2 separate regions of the Homo sapiens genome follow, and region 2 is linked to region 1. Evidence: promoter capture Hi-C in 16 types of primary human blood cells and fetal thymus (Javierre and others, 2016). All regions are on one chromosome and are shown on one strand. The core of a region is centred on a gene start or on the middle of the fragment in contact, and the rest is flanking DNA. Distances in the headings are between cores, read along the strand shown. Region 1 holds the start of RPS7 (ribosomal protein S7). Region 2 overlaps CCT7 (chaperonin containing TCP1 subunit 7).

What was found. Contacts are between HindIII fragments. The CHiCAGO score rates a contact against its expected background, and 5 or more counts as called.
Region 2: a contact is called between a fragment that was not itself captured here and the fragment with the promoter of RPS7 in region 1, in 1 of 17 cell types (total B cells). The highest score is 6.7, in total B cells.

The regions. Positions count from the first base shown.
Region 1 is chr2:3,573,817-3,576,608 of GRCh38, reverse strand. RPS7 (ribosomal protein S7) reads right to left here and starts at 1,349. Exons shown (of 7, transcript NM_001011.4): 1 at 1,259-1,349; 2 at 925-1,017; 3 at 721-792; 4 at 1-122. The coding sequence starts at 999. LOC124907726 (a long non-coding RNA gene) reads left to right here and starts at 1,500. Exons shown (of 2, transcript XR_007086196.1): 1 at 1,500-2,474. RefSeq lists a silencer at 803-1,092 and enhancers at 644-1,220, 1,221-1,796. The HindIII fragment of the contact is 5,628 bases long and covers 1-2,689 here.
Region 2 is chr2:73,242,471-73,245,170 of GRCh38, reverse strand. It overlaps CCT7 (chaperonin containing TCP1 subunit 7), which reads right to left. Exons shown (of 12, transcript NM_006429.4): 4 at 2,042-2,167; 5 at 1,122-1,174; 6 at 456-627. Among named protein-coding and RNA genes, the nearest start is that of CCT7, 9.5 kb to the right of the region's middle. The HindIII fragment of the contact is 1,727 bases long and covers 559-2,285 here.

The DNA of each region.
Region 1 (2,792 bases), core at 100-2,599:
TTCCCACTGAACTTTTTCTCCAATTCGCGTACTAGCCGGACTTGGATTTTCTGGAAAGATTTCAGTTGAGGAACGGGAACAAAGATTATGATAGCTTTCCGACCACCACCAACTTCAATTTCCTAAAGAAAAAAACAAAAATCCACTGTGTTAACTGCTTCAGAAAGTAAACGTTGTGGTCAAATTAGAGGATAAGAAGACCTTATCACTAACACCGTAGCTGCACTACAAACTAATACTAGTTTTGAGTTAATCATAAATGCATCCTTCGGAAATGTTCTCATCTCTCTCCAACCTTCACATTTCCTTATTCCAGGAAGGGAGACTGTTCAGGCCAGGAGGCCAATCACTACCACTTCTGCACCCCCACTTGCGGCAACTCCGGGCTAAGGGTAGAGAGAATCTCATCCTGAGCTCCCCACAGCTCTTTGCCGTATCTATAACTAAGTAAGGGCAAATAAGGTCCGAAATGGGCCCAGGCCCTCCCTACTCCACGTTTCTCCACCGCCCGCATGTGGACAGCTTAAGCCGCAGGGTACCTGCAACCCCACTCCCCGCACCTGGGCGGTATCACTCCCAAACAACACGGCCGAACCTGAGTTCAGGTTAGGCGGCCAGGCGGCAAGTCATCATCAACCGTAACCCAGGTCCAACCCTCTCAGGCACTGCGCGGGGAGACGCGCCGCAACCTCCCTCCCAGCCGAGGGAGCGCCAGCTTACCTTAGCTGCCGTAATATTCAGCTCCCTGAGCTGAGCCTTGAGGTCCGAGTTCATCTCCAGCTCCAGAAGAGCCTAAGAAGCAACGAACAGCAGGACCGACCCTGAGCGCGCGTCCGAGCACCCCGGGCCCAACACACGCGCGGCCGCCTCCCCTCCCGGGCGGGGCGCCTCCCCCCACCCCAGACCCCAGGGAAACCCTCTCACCTGGGAGATGCCGGACTCGAACTCGTCCGGCTTCTCGCCATTGGGCTTCACGATCTTGGCGCTCGAACTGAACATGGCTTTCTCCTGGGAGAACTGAAGGCACAGCGGTCAGCGTTACGCGGCCCGGGCTGCAGGCGCCGCTGGCTCGCCCTCCCGCCCGCACCCCCCGGCCAGGCCCCGCTCGCCCCGCAGAAGCCATCGGAAAGCACAGGGCGGGTAATCGGCTGTATCCCCACCCTGTGAGCAAGGCTCGCCCCTCCAGGGCCTGACTCCAAAAGGCGTTTTCCTCAACCCAAGAAGAAAAGTTCTGTCGGAGAGCAGGCCGCCAACCTACCTTGCCGAGCGCCGGCTTAGGAAGAGACCCAAATCTCGCGAGAGCACGTCAAAATCCGGCGTCCGAAGGCAAGAGGCGGAAACAGCGCGAGGAGGAGGGCGGAAACCGGAACATCACTGAGAAGCGGTAGGAGGCTAGAGAGTCCCAGGAAGCGGCTCTGGGGACGAGTGTCTTGGTAACGCTTTTCCGCCCTAGGATTCGTACTTTGGTGCCGTTTCCGAGCGTTCCGGTACCGGCTCCCAAGGTTCCCGTCTTCAGTGCAGGTTGCAGGCGGGAACCGGCCTCGTCCCAGCCCTGGGCCTGGGAGAGAGAAGGAGGCCGAAGAAAACCAACTTCGGCAACCTCCGGAGACAGGACGTTTAAAAAAGGCTAACTTGGCTGGGCGCTGAGGCTCACGCCTGTAATCCCAGCACTTTGGGAGGCCGAGGCAGGAGGATCACTTGAGCTCAGGAACCAGCCTGGGCAACATGGCGAGACCCCATGTCTACAAAAAAAAAAAAAAAAAAATTAGCCAGTCATGGTGGTGCGCGCCTGCAGTCCCAGCTACCCCGGAGGCCGACGCGGGAGGATCGCTGGAGCCGAAAGGTCGAGGCTGCCGTGAGCCGAGGTTGCACCACTGCACTCCAGCCTGGGCGACAGCGCAAGACCCTGTCTAAAAATAAATTTAAAAAAAATTGCGAGGCCTTCATTCTATGCTAGTACTGTACTAGGTGCTAATTATTAAGTAAAACCGACTGAACTCTTGCCCTCATGGAGCTTACAGTTCAGTGGAGAAGACATTACCTAAAGCAGTATGACTAAATATATAATGACATATTGTAATAACTTACATAACAGTACAATGAGAGGGTGGGGAGGGATTATTTATGCTTTAAGAAGTCGGGAATCCTGGAACGGAATGACATTAGACTGAGACACGGAAGAGCCGCAGGATCTATTGCTGGGGAAGAGCATTCCAGACAGGGAGGAACTCGTGCCGAATGATCCCGCTGTGGACAGGGAATTTAATCTGAGCTTCGGTTTCCTCTTCTGTCAAATGTCATGCAAGAGTTACTTTCAGCCGTGGTCCAGGCACTGTGAAAAATGCAGAAGCCACACTAGGTGCCCTCTCTCAGGATTCCCAACCACCTTTACCAAGCAGAGATGGTATTCATCCCACATTTTTAATGCTAGATATGCTCCCGCCCGGTGCTTCTCTAATAATGTTTTTTAAAAGGTAAGTGACTGTCTCCTTGGAAAATTAAGGATAACTTGAAGTTTCTTCCAGATAGAAAGTAAACTACAGCTGCGTCTACAATCTCATCTGGGCAGTCGTTCTGAGCCCTTTTGTCGAACTAGGTCCATTTCCTTACTCCACATGCACTTTTCGACCTGGCTTTTATCTCTGCTGCTCTATAAAAGTAGTAATCTAAAAGTTCATCCAGTAAAGCTTTTTCTCTGTGAACCTATCACTTGAGAACAAAAAAAATTAAAGTTATTTCTGGTTTCCAGTCCTTTGTTGAATAGGAGTGGTGAGCAAGGACATCCGTGCCTT
Region 2 (2,700 bases), core at 173-2,672, about 70 Mb before region 1:
TAGTGCATGAAACACTTTTAACTTTAGGCCCCTTCACAGTTTGAAATATGTATCATCTATTCAAGATAAATGAATGAAAGAAGGGCAAGCTTAACAGTATCACTTAGGAGTAAGCAGTGAACTGAAAAATCCCTCTCAGATGTATTAATTGGGAGGTCATTGATGATTTGAGCTAGTCCTACTACCCCTCCACCACCCACTGACACAGAGAACCTGAGATTCTGAAAATCATACAGTCCAATTTTCTACTCTGCTGACAAATAATATCCACAGAGGTTACCAAGTTCATCTAGTAACAGCCTCTAATGGCAGTATGGAAAGTACAATGTAAGTCTGACTTCCTGCCTAACATGCATTCTCTTTATTCCTGTAATGAGTACCCCTCTGCCATATGAAGCTGTCTGAAGGGTCAATATGAAAGCAAGAGCTGTCTAGGAAGGCCACAGCAGGCTTACCTCGAGGGCTCCACCCTGTACCTTCTTGATTCCAATCATTTTAAGCTGCAGCAAATCATCGAGCATCATCACTGCATCCACCACCATCTTAGCAAAGAAAGCTTTCTGCTGGGAGATCAGCTTGGAGCTCAGAGCGGTCATGGCACACTTTTCCAGCAGCTTCCTCTGCTCCCTGGGACACAAGGGCAGAATCTGCATCAGGTCTTGAAAACCAAATCCCTCTTATCTGATTCTACTACAGTGTGGAGGTAGTTCCCTTCCAGTCTCTAAACTCAGCCCTCTCCAACTTCACCTTTTGTATCTTTAGGGCAGATTATCAGTGACAGATGGTGACTGCAGTCAAAGATCTCATATGTGGCAGCTTTTAAACTACAGTCGACAGCTTCTTTTGTGCTCTGTGGGCTGGGACACAGCCAAGGGTCTGGCAGGAGCCAAACAGCCCCAGGCACATAGAGGGATTGCAGCATGCTTCTGCATCCAATTTGGCCACAGGAAGTCAGTCAAGGTTCTGACAAAGGCCTGACACGGTGACTCACACCTGTAATCCCAGCACTTTGGGAGTCGCAGGTGGGAGATCACTTGAGCCAGTAGTTCAAGACTAGCCTGGGCAATACAGCAAGGCTCCGTCTCTTTAAAAAAAAAAAAAAAAACCCACTACAGACTTACACTTTATCTGCCTTCTTCACGGTCACAGCAATCTCTTTGATCTTGTTAACTGCCTGCCAAGAACAGAAGTTGAATGAGTCTCTCATGCTAAAGACAAACTGCTGAAGTGGACCTCAATCTCTCAATAGTCCTGAGTCTGTTCACTCCCAAATCCTAAGCATTTCTACTCTACAGCTGAAAAAACACTTCTAGGTCTTGTAACTGCTCAGAAAAATGTAAAACTCTATAGTTCAGAAAATTCCAAGTCAGAAATGCAGAGTGGGTATACAGTTCTGAAGAATCAGGGTGCTTCCAAGATTTTGCTCTGGGTCTGCAGGTAACACGCTACAACGAATGAGTGGAAACAGCTGTGACACGAGATTAAGCCAAACCTCCTGGTTTACTAAAAACACCTACGACAACTTCTAGCACTTTATATATTAGTTATATATAAAATATGCATACAAATATATAAACTTTTTATTTTTTTCCAAAGTACTCCTCATATATTATTTCATTTTAATGTCACCACTCAAATTAGAGATAGCAAAGAAAGTAAGGCCTAGAAAGATTAAATGACTTGCCCCAGATCACAAATGAAGGTTAGAGGGCAAATAATAGCTAGGTCTCAATATACACCATGAGGTGCTTGAGTATAGCATGTAGTAGTAGTATGCCATGAGTCTCTTAGTCCTTACTAAAAGACTATGTCTACATCATAGTCTACCAGGCTGACTCTAACCTGAGGCTTAAAGAGATTAAGTAATACACCTCATCAAATGGCTACAGATTAGTAGAACTGAGATTACTAAGGAGATGTCAGAAAATGCCCAAAGTACCCTGTTCCCCAGTCCCTCCACACTCCTGAAAAGAAATTCCCCTTCCTAAGAGAAATGTGAAGGTGTCCAGGCCCAAGAGAAGGTTAATCAGTACTGCCATACCAGCTGGGTGGCTGTGCGGAAAGCTCGAATGATGATCTGGGGGTGTAAACCTTCCTCCACATAGGGTTTCACCTGCTTCAGAAACTCTGCAGCCAGCAAGGTCACTGAGGTGGTGCCATCACCCACCTGGAAGATGATGACAGGAAATACACGTTTTCTGATGTTCAGGGAATAAAGCCCTGAAACTCCATTTTTAGGCACGCTACCCATTTAAACTGAATATTATTTAAATGGATGTCAAGCTTTTTTCTGGAAGCACAGGTTTTTGCAATAAGTAGAAAGAAGCTAATGGTAGTTACATATCCATCATGTCAAACAGTCCTGGGCTACCAAATTAATTCCCCAGACAGCCCCATTCTCTAAAGAGGGCTGATGTGGACAATCAAATGTCCTCAGGGTAAAAAATTACACACATGAACTGAGAACTTATGTTACGTACAAGGCATTGTGATGAATAAAACAGTCCTTGTCATGCTTATTGTAATACAATACTTAAAATAATCATGGTACCAAGAAGCAAGAGACAAACATTGTTTAAGAAGCAAAAGGTGGCTGGGCACGGTGGCTCACACCTGTAATCTCAGCACTTTGGGAGGCTGAGGCAGGTGGATCACCTGAGGTCAGGAGTTCAAGACCAGCCTGGACAACACGGTGAAACC